Linked DNA regions of Homo sapiens: all the other regions are linked to region 2. Evidence: promoter capture Hi-C in 16 types of primary human blood cells and fetal thymus (Javierre and others, 2016). All regions are on one chromosome and are shown on one strand. The core of a region is centred on a gene start or on the middle of the fragment in contact, and the rest is flanking DNA. Distances in the headings are between cores, read along the strand shown. Region 1 overlaps ACSF3 (acyl-CoA synthetase family member 3). Region 2 holds the start of PABPN1L (PABPN1 like, cytoplasmic). Region 3 overlaps ACSF3 (acyl-CoA synthetase family member 3).

Region 1 (4,646 bases), core at 386-2,885, 280 kb before region 2:
CAGTCATGGCTCACTGAAGCCTCGACTTCCTGGGCTCAAAGGATCCTCCCGAAGTGCTACAGGTATGCGTCACCTTACCTGGTTCCAATGTTCCTATCAAATTTATTTTGGCACGTATATATTTTATAGTTGTATAAAACTATGACAGGCATTTAAATGGAGATGTAATTTACACCCAGCTGTCCTATGTACAGTGTGGTGAGGGATGTGTAGATTTTTTTTTCTTTTGAGACAGAGGCTTGCCCTGTCGCCCAGGCTGGATTGCAGTGGTGCAGTCTCGGCTTGCCGCAACCTCCGCCTCCCGGGTTCAAGCGATTCTCCTGCCTCAGCCTCCTAACTAGCTGGGACTACAGGCGCATACCACCATGCCTGGCTAATTTTTGTATTTTTAATAGAGACGGGGTTTCACCATGTTGGCCAGGATGGTCTCCAACTCCTGACGTCAGGTGATCTGCCCACCTCGGCCTCCCAAAGTGCTGGGATTACAGGTGTGAGCACCACGCCTGGCCTGTGTGGGAATCTAAAGTTTTATTGAAGCAACTGCCCCCTGCTCTAAGTAGCGCCCAGACTGAAAGGGAACATGGCCAGGTTCCCAGAAGCCCCTCTGCCTGCCTGAGCCACTCCCAACCTCCACGTGTAACCAACGTCTCGGTTTCTAACAGGGGACAAACTCTGTGTTGAATGAGACTGGGTGGCAGTGGTGAGGGCAGGCGCCCCTTCCTGGTCACAGGAGGAAAACGCCCAGCAGCTCCCCATCGAGCAGGATGTCATCTGGTAGCTTTTGAGAGACTCCCTCATCAGGTTCAAGGATTTTCCTTCTTCTCCTAGTTTGCTAAGAGTGCTTGTTATAAAAGGGTTTTGACATTTGCAAATGCTTTTTCTGTATCTATTGAAATGATATGATCTTTCTTCTTCATTCTGTAAATATGGTGAATTACCAGTGGCTCACGCTTGTAATTCCAGGACTTCGGGAGGCCGAGGCGGGAGGATTACTTGAAGTCAGGAGTTCGAGACCAGCTTGGCCAACACGGTGAAACCCCGTCTCTAATAAAAATACAAAAATTAGCTGTGCATGGTGGTGCGCACCTGTAATCCCAGCTACTCAGGAGGCTGAGGCAGGAGAATCACTTGAACCTGGGAGCTGGAGGTTGCAGTGAGCGGAGATCGTGCCACTGCACTCCAGCCTGGGCGACAGAGCGAGACTCCATCCAAAAAAAAAAAAAATATATGGTGAATTACACAGACTGATTTTTGAATATGAAAGTAACCCTCTATTCCTGGCTTAAATGCTGCTTGATCATGACGTGTTGTCTTTTTGTGCATTAACTGGATTTAATTTGCTAACGTTTTGTTTAGGATTTTGTGTGTCTGCCCATTGGGAACACTGTCCTCTCGTTTTCTTGTCTGGTTTTGATTTCAGGGTAGTGCTGGTCCCATACGGGGAGTTAGGAAGTGTTCCTCCCCACTCTGTTTCATCAGAGACTTACTTTGCTGTGTCTGGTTTTATTTTTTGCCTTCAATGTTTGAGATAATTTATCAGTGAAGCCTTTTGGGCCTGCTATTTGCTTTGCAGTTTTAAATTGGTAACTCAGAACTGTTCAGTCTGTTTCAGTGTTTGCGTCAGTCTTGGCAATTTGTGTCTTTTAAGGGAGTTATCTGTTTCATCTGAACTGCTGACTTCACTGGATACAGCAGCCCTCCGTGCCGCCATCCTGCCCGTCAGAGCCCGCATGCCTGAGGCGAGGTTTCGTTTCCTTCCGATATTTAGAATGCTGTTTTCTCTCCTCTTGGTTGGGTGTTCTTTCAACCTGAAAACTCATGACCTTTGGTTTGGGGAAATTTGACTGTGAATTTCCTCCCTGGATATCTTCTTGTTGGAACTCCCATTAGACAGTTGGAACATTTGGATTAATCCTCTAACTTACTTCCTCCTGCCTCCCTTCCTGTTCTTCTTTCTTTCATGGTGAATGGACAAGCACTGCAGTCTCAGCCTGAGCCGGGCACAGCAAGCAGGACTCAGGGCTGCAGGGGAGGTAGCTGTGGGCCAGGTACAGCAAGTGGCCTGGACAGCAAGGGCCTGGCTCCAGGGCTCCTGCAGGACTGGCGGAGTCCTGGGCTGTGACCGCATGGCTGGTGGCCTTCCCTGCCCAGTCCTGTCCCTCACAGGCGGCTTCTCCTCAGCGGGCCCTCAAGTGCCCTGCACGCAGCTTCCCGTCTTAGGGTCTTGTCACAGCCACTGTCATAGCCCAAACAATGCTGGGTGAGGAGCCTGATGTGAGAGATGCACAGAGCAGGAGCAGGCGGCCTGGTGTCCCTGGGCAGGGGCGGCCTGGTGTCCCCACGCAGAGGGCAGCCCTGAGGACAGCCAAGGGCTGAGGAGCATCGGGACTTCAGTTCCTGCCAACTCGGACCCTGAAACTCTAGCACAGCTCTCAGCCCTCGACACCTATCTTTTCTTCTCAAGGTAACTGTTTAATGAAAGCAGCAGCTGCTGCTGAGTGGCAGTGCTCCCGCTGTGTTGTGCAAGCCCAGGCATGTGTGGTGCCCTGATGCTGCCCTGATCAAGCAAGCGTTTCTGCTGTCTGTGGAGTCACATCGGACAAGCCAAAAATATCTTCAGTGCTCAGGAGACGGCAAGTCAGGGTGGAGGCAGGAGGGTGCGTCCAGAGAGGGAACAGAACAGAGACAAATGCTCGGTCTTAAATAATTTGCTGTAGGTGAGCTCTTCCTCCTGCTCCACCATGTGGGACATGCCTGCCTCCCCTTCTGTCATGACTGTAAGTTTCCTGAGGCCTCCCCAGCCATGCTTCCTTATAGCCTGTGGAACTGTGAGCCACTTAAACCTCTTTTCTTTATAAATTACCATCTTGGGTAGTTCCTTATGAAAGCAACAGGAAGCAGTCAAATGCCCAGATAGACAGGGGTGGGTCCCTGGTGAAACCCCACCTTCAAGCCAAAAACAGCCTGAAACCTGCAGCCTGGAGTGAGAACTTCTATTCCTGTTTGCCCACTCTTTCCCACTGGTTCTTTCTGAATAATGCTTTTTAACCAACCAAAGGTTACCTTTTCCAGTGCTACCTACAGCCTGCCCCTCCCCATTCTGTGCCCAGAAAAGCCCTAGACCCAGCCACACCCAACTCTGGGCGGTTCAGCACCCTCGCATACCCTCTCCGCTGAGAGCTGTTTCATTGCTCAATAAAATTCTTCTCCACTCTCCTCACCCTTTGAATTGTCAGTGTAACCTCATTCTTCTTGGACGCGGGACAAGAACTTGGGAACCGATGAATGCAGGTATAAGCTATAACACAGGTGGGCTGAGCCAGTGCATAAGCCAAGCATGGCCCAGTGGGTCGAGTGTGTGGGTGCCTTCTGTGGCAGGCCTGGGTTGGGGGTGTCACCAGCCACGGAGGTCCCCGGTTGGCAAAGTGGCTGAGAAAAATCTGGCTTCATTTATAGCAATGCAAGACTGGACTAACACAGAAAACTGGTACAGGGAAGTGGGGCACTGCTGTTAAGACATCTGGAAATGTGGAAGCAGCTTTGGAACTGGGTAACAGGCAGAGGCTGGAACGATTTGGAGAGCTCGGAAGAAGACAGGAAGATGAGGGAAAGTTTGGAACTTCCTAAAGACTTGTTAAATTGTTGTGACTAAAATGCTAATAGCGATATGGACAATGAAGTCCAGGCTGAGGTAGACTCGGAGGGAGATGAGGAACTTATTGGGAACTGGAGCAAAGATTGCTTTTGTTAAGCATGAGCAAAGAGATGACCTGAAACCGGAACTTAGATTTAAAAGGTAAGCAGAGCATAAAATTTGGAAAATTTGCAGCCTGATCACATGGTAGAAAACAAACAAACAAACAATTTTCTGGGGAGGAATTCAAGCTGGCTGCAGAAATGTGCGTAAGTAAAGAGGAGCTGAATATTAATCGCCAAGACAATGAGGAAAATGTCTCTAGGCGTGTCAGAGACCTTCATGGAAGTGCCTCTCATCATAGGCCTGGAGGCCTCGGAGGGAAGAATGGTTTTGTGGGCCACTGCCCTGAGGGACACTGGCCCCTGCATCCCTGTTGCTCTGGGGCTAAAAGGGCTCCAGATAGAGCTCAGGCCACTGCTCCAGGGCAGTGAAGAGGAGAAAGATGGGGTTGGAGCCCCCACACAGAGTCCCCAGTGGGGCCCTGGCTACTGCAGCTGTGAGAAGAGGGCCACCGTTCTCCAGACCCCAGAATAACCCACCGACAGCTTGCACTGTGTGGTGCACCTAGAAAAGTTGCAGGCACACAACAGCAGCCTATGAAAGCAGCATGGGGGCTGTACCCTACAGAGCCACAGGAGCAGAGATACCCATGGCCTTGGGAGCCACCTCCATGCATCAGTGTAGCCTGGATGTGAGACATGGGTCTTAGGAGATTATTTTGGGGCTTTAAGATTTATTGGGCTGGGTGGGGTTGCTCACGCCTGTAATTCCAGCATTTTGGGAATCTGAGGCAGGTGGATCACTTGAGGTCAGGAGTTCGAGACCAGCCTGGACAACATGGCAAAACCCCATCTCTACTAAAAAATACAAAAATTAGCTGGGTGTGGTGGTGCATGCCTATAGTCCCAGCTACTTAGGGAGGCTGAGGTAGGAGAATTGCTTGCAGGCA
Region 2 (4,810 bases), core at 2,311-4,810:
CTTGGGAGGCTGAGGCAGGAGAATCCCTTGAACTCAGGAGGTGGAGGTTGCAGTGAGCCGAGATCGTGCCACTGCACTCCAGTCTGGGCAACAGAGTGAGACTCCATCTCAAAAAAAAAAAAGAAATGAAAACTGAGGGGACACAGGGGACCTGAGGGTGGACAGCACAGGAAGGGACGGCTTGCCCCTCTCAGCCACCCCCATGGGGCCCTGGTGTTGGGTCACACACGGATCCTGTCTGGAATAGGAGTTGTCCTGGGCGCTGGGGCCCCAGGGGCCAGGCTGCCATGAATCCTCAGGCCCGGCTCTGGAACAGGGTGTATTTGAAGAGTGTCACTGGAAAGGCCAGGGTCGGAGCCGTCTGTCCCCTGCCAGGCAGCTGGCAGGAGCCCTGGCCGGGCCTTGTGTGTCAGCAATCTCAGACAGGGTGAGGATGACAAGGTTTTCCATGGCCGGGGCCCGAGCTCAGAGGGGCATGCGTCAGGGCCTGGGCCGAGTCCAGCAGACTCTGGTCTTGGATGGAACTGGTTGCAATCCTGCCTCTGACAGGGAGGTGGAGGCACGGGTGCTGGCAGACCCTCCAACACACAGGCACAGACACACGGGGCAGGGGGCTCCATCCCAACAGGAGGATCCCAGGCTGAGGCCGCACTCCACCCAGCGTACCTGTCCTCGGTGCAGATGTGGGCGCTGCCCCTGAGGAGCTTTGGTTTCTAAGGGGAGAGCTGGCCAAGTCATCAACACTGGACGGACAGCAGGAAAGGCGTGAGGACAGCGGCTCTCGAGGGAGGAGGAGCAGCCCGGCAGCCCTCCCGGAAACAGTGGCACCGTGTTCGCAGGGGGAACAGCGTCCAGGGACCACGCACACGTAAGTGTGTGGCTGTGCGGAGCCAGGGAGAGGGGAAGGGGCGTCCAGGGCCATAGCCAGGTTCCAGACAAGGCCCATTCCTCCCCGACCTCATGAGCCTGCCCCAGAAAATCCTCTGGGTGGTGAACAGATGGGGTGACAGCATGGTCTTCAGTCAGCCTCCTGGAGGTGGGAAAAGAAAACAGAATTTCGGGACCTAAAACGCACTAAGCCAAAGGGAAAAGTCAAGCTGGGAGCCGAATCACACACACCTGCCTCCCATTTTCTTCCTAATTGGACAGCCACGAAGATGAAGAAGCCTGTGCCTCCTCGCATCGCGCTTACAGGGAAATTCCTTGTGGGTCCCAAGATCTTGGCTCTGAAACAGTTCTGCTGGATCCCACCCAGATAGTGTGATCTAGCAGCTTATCTTCCCAGGTATGGGACAAAGGACAGAGCTAACGTTACCCTCCGCTCACCGGAGGCGAATGCGAACCTGCCAGCTTCCTATTCCCTGTGGCAGTTTTATCTTCTGTGGAAACGCAGAGTCGCTGAGCGTGGGGCTACGTAATTCTCTTCTCTACCCCCACCTTCCACATTTCAAAATGTGCATTTGGTGACTGCCAATCAGAGATTCAAAGGAACGCTACCACTTGCCTTTTATCCGCCCTCCCTTTTCTTTCCTTCCTGTGTTCCCCTCCTGCCCGCTCTTTCCCTTTAAGTATAAAAGTCTCCAAACCCTCTTTGGGTTTTTTTGTTTTTGTTTTTTGAGACAGTCTCACTCCGTCGCCCAGGCCGGAGTGCAGTGGCGCGATCTCGGCTCACTGCAACCTCTGCCTCCCGGGTTCAAGTGATTCTCCTGCCTCAGCCTCCCAAGTATCTGGGATTACAGGCGCCCGCCACCATGCCTGGCTAATTGTTTTTGTATTTTTAGTAGAGACAGGGTTTCACCATGTTGGCCAGGCTGGTTTTGAACTCCTGACCTTAAGTGATCCGCTCACCTCGGCCTCCCAGACTGCTGGGATTATAGGCGTGAGCCACCATGCCCGGCCTCCAAACCCTCTTTGGAAAAAGCAGAGCACAGATGTTGCCTGTGGCTTCGTGTTTCTTTTTCCTGGGTGCACCCTTAACCTTGGCAAGATACACCTCTAAACTGATTGATTGAGACCCATCTCAGACACCTTCTGGCTTTTACAGAGGTGAGAACAGACTGGGTGCAGGAGCCTGGGTTCCCAGGCTGTGGCAGCCTCCATGTCCACCTGCTCCCCGAGCCCCCAGCCCAAGATGGAGGAAGGGCCGCCCTGCGTGGGTGGTGCATGGTGCAGCAGTGCAGCTCCAGCCTAGGCCACGCCCTGTCTCTCTCTCCTCCCCCAGTCCCAAATTCCCAGGAATCCCAGCCCCACTGGCTAAACACCGGGGTGCAGTCACAGAGAGGATGGCCTCGGCCTGGGGGTAGGAGCTGTGCAGGGGGCCCCGTCTCCCACCACCAATGGCAGGGGTAAGAGCCATGCATGACCCCCTGGCCCCGAGTCCTTCACAGAGTGGGTGGGAGACGGCAGCACTGGAGATGAAGGCCAGAGCAGACTCCAGCAGCCGCGGTGGCAGGTGCAGAGGGAGGCGCAAGGGCGGACACGGGTCACCTCCTGCTGCAACCCTGCATGGGTGAAGCCAGGTGCAGACACCACCGGATGCCCACTGAATTCCGCCACAGTAACTCACGCCGTCACTCCCCACGGAGACCCCGCCCCACAATAACTCACGCCGTCACTCCCCACGGAGCCCCCGCCCCACAGCAGAATAATTCTGGCCTCATGGAAGTGGCTCCCACCTAAAAGATGACCCAGACCAGGTGCGGTGCTCACGCCTGTAATCCCAGCACTTCGGGAGGCCGAGTCGGGCGGATCACCTGAGGTCAGGAGTTCGAGACCAGCCTGGGCAACATGGTGAAACCCTGTCTCTACTAAAAAGACAAAAAAAATTAGCTGGGCATGGTGGCAGGTGCCTGTAATCCCAGCTACTCAGGAGGCTGAGGCAGGAGAATCACCCGAACCTGGGAGGCAAAGGTTGCCGTGAGCCGAGATCGCGCCACCGCACTCCAGACTTGGCAACAAAGCAAGACTCCTGCCTAAAAAAAAAAGAAAAAAAAAAAAAAGGCCCAGAATAAGGGTTAGGGAGGCAAGGGTCCCTGGGGACTCCATGGGGGTCAGGATGCAGAGACAGCTGTTGCTGCCCCTCCTCTGGGCCCAGGACCCCGCCCCAACCTGCCTCGGCCCTCTCATCCCATGCACCTGCTCTCGGTCTCTGCTCAGGCCCTGCCTCTCCTGGTCGGAAGCCACCTCTCCAGCCTGCTTGGTCCCTGGTACTAGAAGAAACCACTCCCGTGTTCCCACTTAGATCGAGTGTTCATGCAGTGTGGCGTTCGTGCCGTGTGGATGCTGCTGAGGTGTGAACCCTGTCACAGACCAAGGCTCCAGTGAGCCACAGCGTGGCCAGGCGGAAGCAGAAGAGACCGGTGACCCCCACTCAACTCAGCCTCTCCTTCCTCCAGGGAGAGTGTCCTGGAGGTACCTGTCCGAGTGACAGGGAAGGGGCGGGGCCGGGAGCCAAGGCTGGAAGCTCAGCCCCACTCAGCCTTTGCAAATGCTCTAGTGGGAGCAGCTGGCCTCAGGGGAGGGCTTAAAACTCCAGGAGAGCCTGGGCAGGTGCGGACGCGAGGGGAGTGGAGGGGAGGCCTCGCCTGGCCCACCTTCCTCCTGCCCCTCTACCATGTGGCCCTTCCCGAGCCGCTCTCTCTTCCCACCCCCGACTCAGGCCTGGCTCCAGACGGTCTCCTCAGACCCTGAGGCCCAGGGCTGGGGGGCCTGGAACGAGACCAAGGAGATTCTGGGGCCAGAGGGTGGGGAAGGGAAGGAGGAGAAAGAGGAGGAAGAGGATGCAGAGGAAGACCAGGATGGGGATGCAGGCTTTCTGCTGTCTCTGCTGGAGCAAGAGAACCTGGCTGAGTGCCCATTGCCTGACCAGGTAACAGCTGTGTGGAGGCCCTGGGGATCTCAGGGGACCTGGGGCACAGGGGCTGGTGGAGACACGGGGTCTGGGTGACGGATGGCTGCAGCTGACTTAGGAGGGGAGAGGGCCATTGCCCACCTGCCTGGACGAAGGTGGCAAGGAGACCCCCCGCCCCCAGCCACACAGACTGCAGGGTCAAGGTGGCCTCTCTCGCCTGGGGAAGGGCCCTTGAGGTGCGGTTTCGGGGGCTTCTCTGCAGGGGCGAGTTCATCCCCAGCCAGCTGCCCCAGGAAGGAGTGTCCCTGTCCAGAGAAGGGCTGCCCCTTGGGGCTGTGACCCTCTGCTGGAGCTGGCAGGCCACACACCCACCTTCCTTGAGCAGAGCCTGCAGGCTGCCTGCCCGGCTCAGGGCCGTGTGTCGGCAGGAGCTGGAGGCCATCAAGATGAAGGTGTGTGCCATGGAGCAGGCCGAGGGGACGCCACGGCCTCCAGGAGTGCAGCAACAGGCCGAGGAAGAGGAGGGCACCGCGGCCGGGCAGCTGCTGAGCCCTGAGACCGTGGGTAGGAACCAAGGGCACAGGCCGCCCCCCACTGAGCAAGGGTCCCACAGTTTCCATTAAGGTTGGGCCTGGCAGGCTCCAAGGTGTCACCTCCCCTATAAGCCTGGGCGACCTTCCCCGTGAGAGGAGTGAGGAAGGAACCAAGGGCCTGCGGGCCTGAGCTGTGTTCTCCGCAGGCTGCCCCCTCTCTGGGACCCCCGAGGAGAAGGTGGAGGCTGACCACAGATCCGTCTACGTGGGCAACGTGAGTGGTGGGCGGGGTGAAGGGGCAGGCAGCGAATGGGGCCCCATCTCTACCAGAGGGTCTGGCGCCCGGCCATGGGCCAGGCAGCCTTGCTGGGAAGGGGGTCTGACCCTGGGGGCAGCCCCGTCACCTTGAGGAAACACTGGCCTGGGC
Region 3 (4,949 bases), core at 871-3,370, 260 kb before region 2:
GGAGCAGGACGATGAAGAAACGAACGTGACAACTTGAAGACAGAGCAACAGAAATGACCCAAAATCTGAACAGCAGAGAAAAATCACCAGGAAAGTCAACACACAGAGGGCTAACGTTCATGCTACTGGAGTGACAGAAGAAAAGATAACACTTAGGTGCACAAAGTCGTTTGATAAAATTTGGCTAAAAACCCAAAATTTGGTGAAAACATAAGCCTATAAACTAAAGAAGCTGAGAGAATCCCAAACAGGACAAACCAAAAGATGTCCAAGCCCAGACACATCATAATCCAATCACTGACACACAGAGAGGAACAAGGGTTCCTGCGCCCACTGATTTCTCCACGGAAACAATGGAGGCCGGAAAGAAGTGGAGTTATATTATTAGTAGTATTTTTTTGAGACAGACTCTCATTCTGTCACCCAGGCTGGAGTGCAATGGCATGATCTCGGCTTACTGCAACCTCCACCTCCCAGGTTAAAACAATCCTCCAGCCTCAGCCTCCCAAGTAGCTGGGATTACAGGTGTGTGCCACCATGCCTGGCTAATTTTTGTATTTTTAGTAGAGACAGGGTTTCCCCATGTTGGCCAGGCTGGTCTCAAATTCTTGACCTCAGGTGATCCACTCCCACCTTGGCCTCCCAAAGTGCTGGGACTATAGGCATGAGCTGCCACATCCAGCCAAGAATCATATTTTTAAAGTGCTGAAAGAAAATAGTTGTCAACCCAGAATTCCTAATCCAATGAAAATATCCTTCAGGAAGGAAGATAAAGACATTCTTAGATGAGGAAAAATAAGGTAATTTGTTGCAAGCAGATCTGATCTAAAAGAATTCCTATAGAATGTCCTTCAGACAGAAAGAAACTGGTATCAGAAGGAGACTTGGTATATTGGGAATACAGGAAAAGCAACAGAAGTGGCAAATATTTGGATGAATGAAGTTGAGTTCCTTTCTTCTCAAGTTCTCTGAAATATTTTTGACTGTTGAAAGCAAAAATTACCATTTTGTCTAACGGAGTTTACAACAAATACAGGTATTACACTGACTACACTCTAAAGGCAGAGGGTAAGTAACCGATGTGGAGGCAGGGATGTGGCTCTACATTCTTCTGGAAGTGTTAAAATGTTGACTTTAAGTAGACTGTAAAAAAGGAAGTATGTATATTGTAGTTTCTGGAACTACTACTAAAAAAACTATGCAAAGACATTTATGGTCAAAAACTTAAGAGACAAATTAAAATGGAATATGAAAAAATAACCTCAAAGAAGGCAGTAAAGTTGAGCAATAAAACTCTCAGGGAACAATAGTAAACACATAGTAAAATGGTAGGCTTAAATTCAAGCACATCAATAATTACATTAAATGTAAATGGTCTAAACATACCAATTACAAAGCTTGTCAGGCTGGATTTAAAAAACACACATAATCCAACTGTATGCTGTGTATAAGAAACTTGCTTCAAATACAATTACACAGGTAGGTTGGAAGTAAAGGGATAGAACAATAAATACCATGCAAACTCCAACCGAGAAATTAAAATAGCTATAATAATATCAAAGTAAACTTAAGAGCAAAGAGCATTACCAGAGCATTAAATGTTAATAAGAGTCAATTCACCAATAAGACACAATCATTATAAATGTGAATGTACCAAACAACAGACTTTCAAAATATATGAAGCAAAAACTGAAAGCAGAAACAGGCAGTTATAGTTGGAAAATTCAACCCCTCACTTAGTAACAGAACAAGTGGTGAGAAAACCAGCAAGGATATAGAAGAACTGAACAACACGATCAAACACCTTCATCTAATTTACAGAACAGACATTTCCTAAAACGAGCAGGACACACACTCTTGCTCTGTCAGGCTGGAGTGCGGTGGCATCATCACAGCTCACTGCAGCCTCAAACTCCCAGATTCAGGCGATCTTCCCGCCTCGGCCTCCTGTGTAGCTGGGACCAAAGGCATGTAACACCATGCCCAGCTATTTTTTTTTTTCCAACTTTTTGTAGAGATGGGGTCTCACTATGTTGCTCAGGCTGGGCTCAAACTCCTGGGCAGTGATTCTCCTGCCTTGGCCTCCCAAAGTGTTGGGATTACAGGTGTGAGCCACTGCGCCTGGGCAGAATATATACTCTTTTCAAGTACACCAGAACATTCCTGAAAAGAAACCACATTCTGGGCCACAAAACACAACTTAACAAATTTAAAAGAATTGAAATATACCAAGTGCGTCTTTTGACTGTAATGGACTTAAACTAGAAATCAGTAACAGAAAGATAATGGAAAAATATCCAACTATTTGGAAAATATGTGCTATACTTCTAAATAATCCACAAGTCAAAGAGGAAGTCTTAAGGAACATTAAAAATATTTTGAACTAAATGAAAATAAAAATATATCAAAATTTAGGTCAGGCGTGGTGGCTCATGCCTGTAATCTCAGCACTTTGGGAAGCCGAGGTGGGTGGATCACTTGAGGTCAGGAGTTCGAAACCAGCCTGACCAACATGGTGAAACCCCATCTGTACTAAATACAAAAAATTAGCTGGGCGTGGTGGCGCATGCCTATACTCCCAGCTACTCAGGAGGCTGAGGCAGGAGAATTGCTTGAACCTGGGAGGCTGAGGTTGCAGTGAGCCAAGATCATGCCATTGCACTCCAGCCTGGGCAACGAGAGCGAAACTCCGTCTCAAAAAAAAAAAAAGAAAAAAGAAAAAAATATATATATATTATATATAAATTTGGGGATGCAGCTAAAGCAATGCTTAAGGGCAACGTACGTCATTAAATGTACACATTATAAAGAGGAAAGGTCTCAAATCAATAATCTAAAGCTTCACCTTAAGCAACTAGAAAAAGAGAAAAGCCAGAAGCAAGTAGAAGAAACCAAGAACTAGTGAAACTGAAAACAGAAAAACAGTAAAGAAAAATCAATGTATCCAAAAGTGACTTCTTTGAAAAAAGAGCCATAAAACAGATAAACTTCTAGCAAGGATAACAAAGAAAAAAGAAACAGAAGACACAAATTACCAACATGAGGAATGGGAGCCACATAACTTCAGGCCCTGAAACCATTAAAAGGTTAAGATGGGAATTCCCTTATTAACCTTTTAATCAACCTTTTAATGGTTTCGTGGCCTGAAGGGAAACTCTACATAAAGAAACTTAACAGATTAAATGAACCAATTCCTCAAAAATGATATGTACCAAAAATCACCCAAGATGCAACAGATGACCTGAACAGTCCTATAAGCACTAAAGAAATTGAATTCATAGTTCTTTTTCTTTCAAAAAAGAAACGTTGGTAGGGCACAGTGGCTCACACCTGTAACCCTAGCACTTTGGGAGGCGAGGAGGGAGAATCACTTGAGGCCAGGAGTTCAAGATCAGCCTGGGCAATATAGTGAGACCCCCAACTCTACAAAAATAAAAATAAAAAATTAGCTGGGCATGTTGGCACATGCCTGTGGTCCCAGCTACTTGGGAGGCTGACGCAGGATCACTTGAGCCCAGGAGTTCAAGGCTCCAGTGAGCTATGATTGCACCACTGCACTCCAGCCTGCGTGACAGAACGAGACCTTATCCCCCACACACAAAATAATAATAATAGAAAAGAAAACCTCTAGGCCCAGATGATTTCATTGGTGAATTCCACCAATCATTGAAAGAAGAAATAATACCAATTCTACACAATCTCTTCCAGAAAAAAAAAGAGGAGAGAACACTTCCCAACTCATTTAATGAGGCCAGCATCACCCTCAAACACAACCCAAAGAAAGTACAAAAATGGGAAACTACAGACCAAAATTTCTTATGAATACAGATGCAAAAATACTCAGCAATATGCTAGCAAATCAAATCCAGTACTATATATAAAAAAATGACCCACCAGGACCAAGTGGGGTTTGTCCTGGGAATGAAAGCTTGGTTCAATGTAATCTACCATATTAACAGCCTAATAAAGAAAAGTCCATCAATACCGAAAAGCTTTTTGAAAATATTCAACATACATTTAGTGATAAAAAGTCTAAGCACATTATAGATAGAATGGAATCTGCAAAAAGCCAGTAACTAACACACTTGCTGAAAGACTGAATCCTTTCCCTAAGATCAGAAATAAGAAGGTCCACTCGGACTGCTTCTGTTCAGTATCGTATTGGAAGTCCTAGTCAGGGCTTTGGTCATACAGGTTGGAAAGGAAGAAATAAAACTGTTTGTATTTGCAGAAAACATGATTGTATTTGTAGAAATTCCCAAGAAGTCTATTAAAATCTCCTAAAACTAGTAAGTTAATTTAGCAAGGTAACAACTAAAGTATTTGAGGCCAACACACAAAAATCAATTCTATTTCTACCTACTAGCAATGAACAGTTGAAAACTAACAACAGCAACAAAAACGTGACTGTGTGCAGAGGCTCATGCCTGTAATCTCAGCATCTTGGGAGGCCGAGGCGGGCAGATCACTTGAGGTCAGGAGTTTGAGACCAGCCTGGCCAACATGGTGAAACCCTGCCTCTATTAAAAATACAACAATCAGCCAGGTGTGGTGGCACACATCTGTAATCCCAGCTACTGGGGAGGCTGAGGCATGAGAATCACTTAGACCCAGGAAGTAGAGGTTGCAGTGAGCTGAGATCGTACCACTACACTCCAGCCTGGGCGAAAGGACAAGATTCTGTCTCAAAAAAACAAACAACTCTCCCCCCATACCCACCTGCCATACTTACAATAGTTTAAAAAGGAGAGGAAAAGGAGGAGAAGAAATAGGAGGAATAAAGAAAAGAAGAAACATTTACTTATAAATTTAACACAAGTACAGCATCTATATGCTGAATACAACACAGAAGAAACCAAAGTATATCTAAATGGAGAGACACACCATGTTCACTGATCTAAGTAAATGGAGAGACAGACCGTGTTCACAGATCTATGTAAATGGAGAAA

Evidence for each region. Contacts are between HindIII fragments. The CHiCAGO score rates a contact against its expected background, and 5 or more counts as called.
Region 1: a fragment that was not itself captured here is called in contact with the fragment with the promoter of PABPN1L in region 2 in 4 of 17 cell types (monocytes, M1 macrophages, fetal thymus and 1 more); the score reaches 7.4 in monocytes.
Region 3: a contact is called between a fragment that was not itself captured here and the fragment with the promoter of PABPN1L in region 2, in 8 of 17 cell types (M1 macrophages, monocytes, erythroblasts and 5 more). The highest score is 8.6, in M1 macrophages.

What each region holds. Positions count from the first base shown.
Region 1 is chr16:89,148,190-89,152,835 of GRCh38, reverse strand. All of the region lies in intron 10 of ACSF3 (acyl-CoA synthetase family member 3), which reads right to left. Among named protein-coding and RNA genes, the nearest start is that of LINC00304, 8.7 kb to the left of the region's middle. The HindIII fragment of the contact is 8,507 bases long and covers 1-4,646 here.
Region 2 is chr16:88,865,410-88,870,219 of GRCh38, reverse strand. PABPN1L (PABPN1 like, cytoplasmic) reads left to right here and starts at 3,560. Exons shown (of 7, transcript NM_001080487.4): 1 at 3,560-3,868; 2 at 4,279-4,414; 3 at 4,590-4,657. The coding sequence starts at 3,614. The HindIII fragment of the contact is 14,417 bases long and covers 1-4,810 here.
Region 3 is chr16:89,126,025-89,130,973 of GRCh38, reverse strand. All of the region lies in intron 7 of ACSF3 (acyl-CoA synthetase family member 3), which reads right to left. Among named protein-coding and RNA genes, the nearest start is that of LINC00304, 31 kb to the left of the region's middle. The HindIII fragment of the contact is 1,442 bases long and covers 1,400-2,841 here.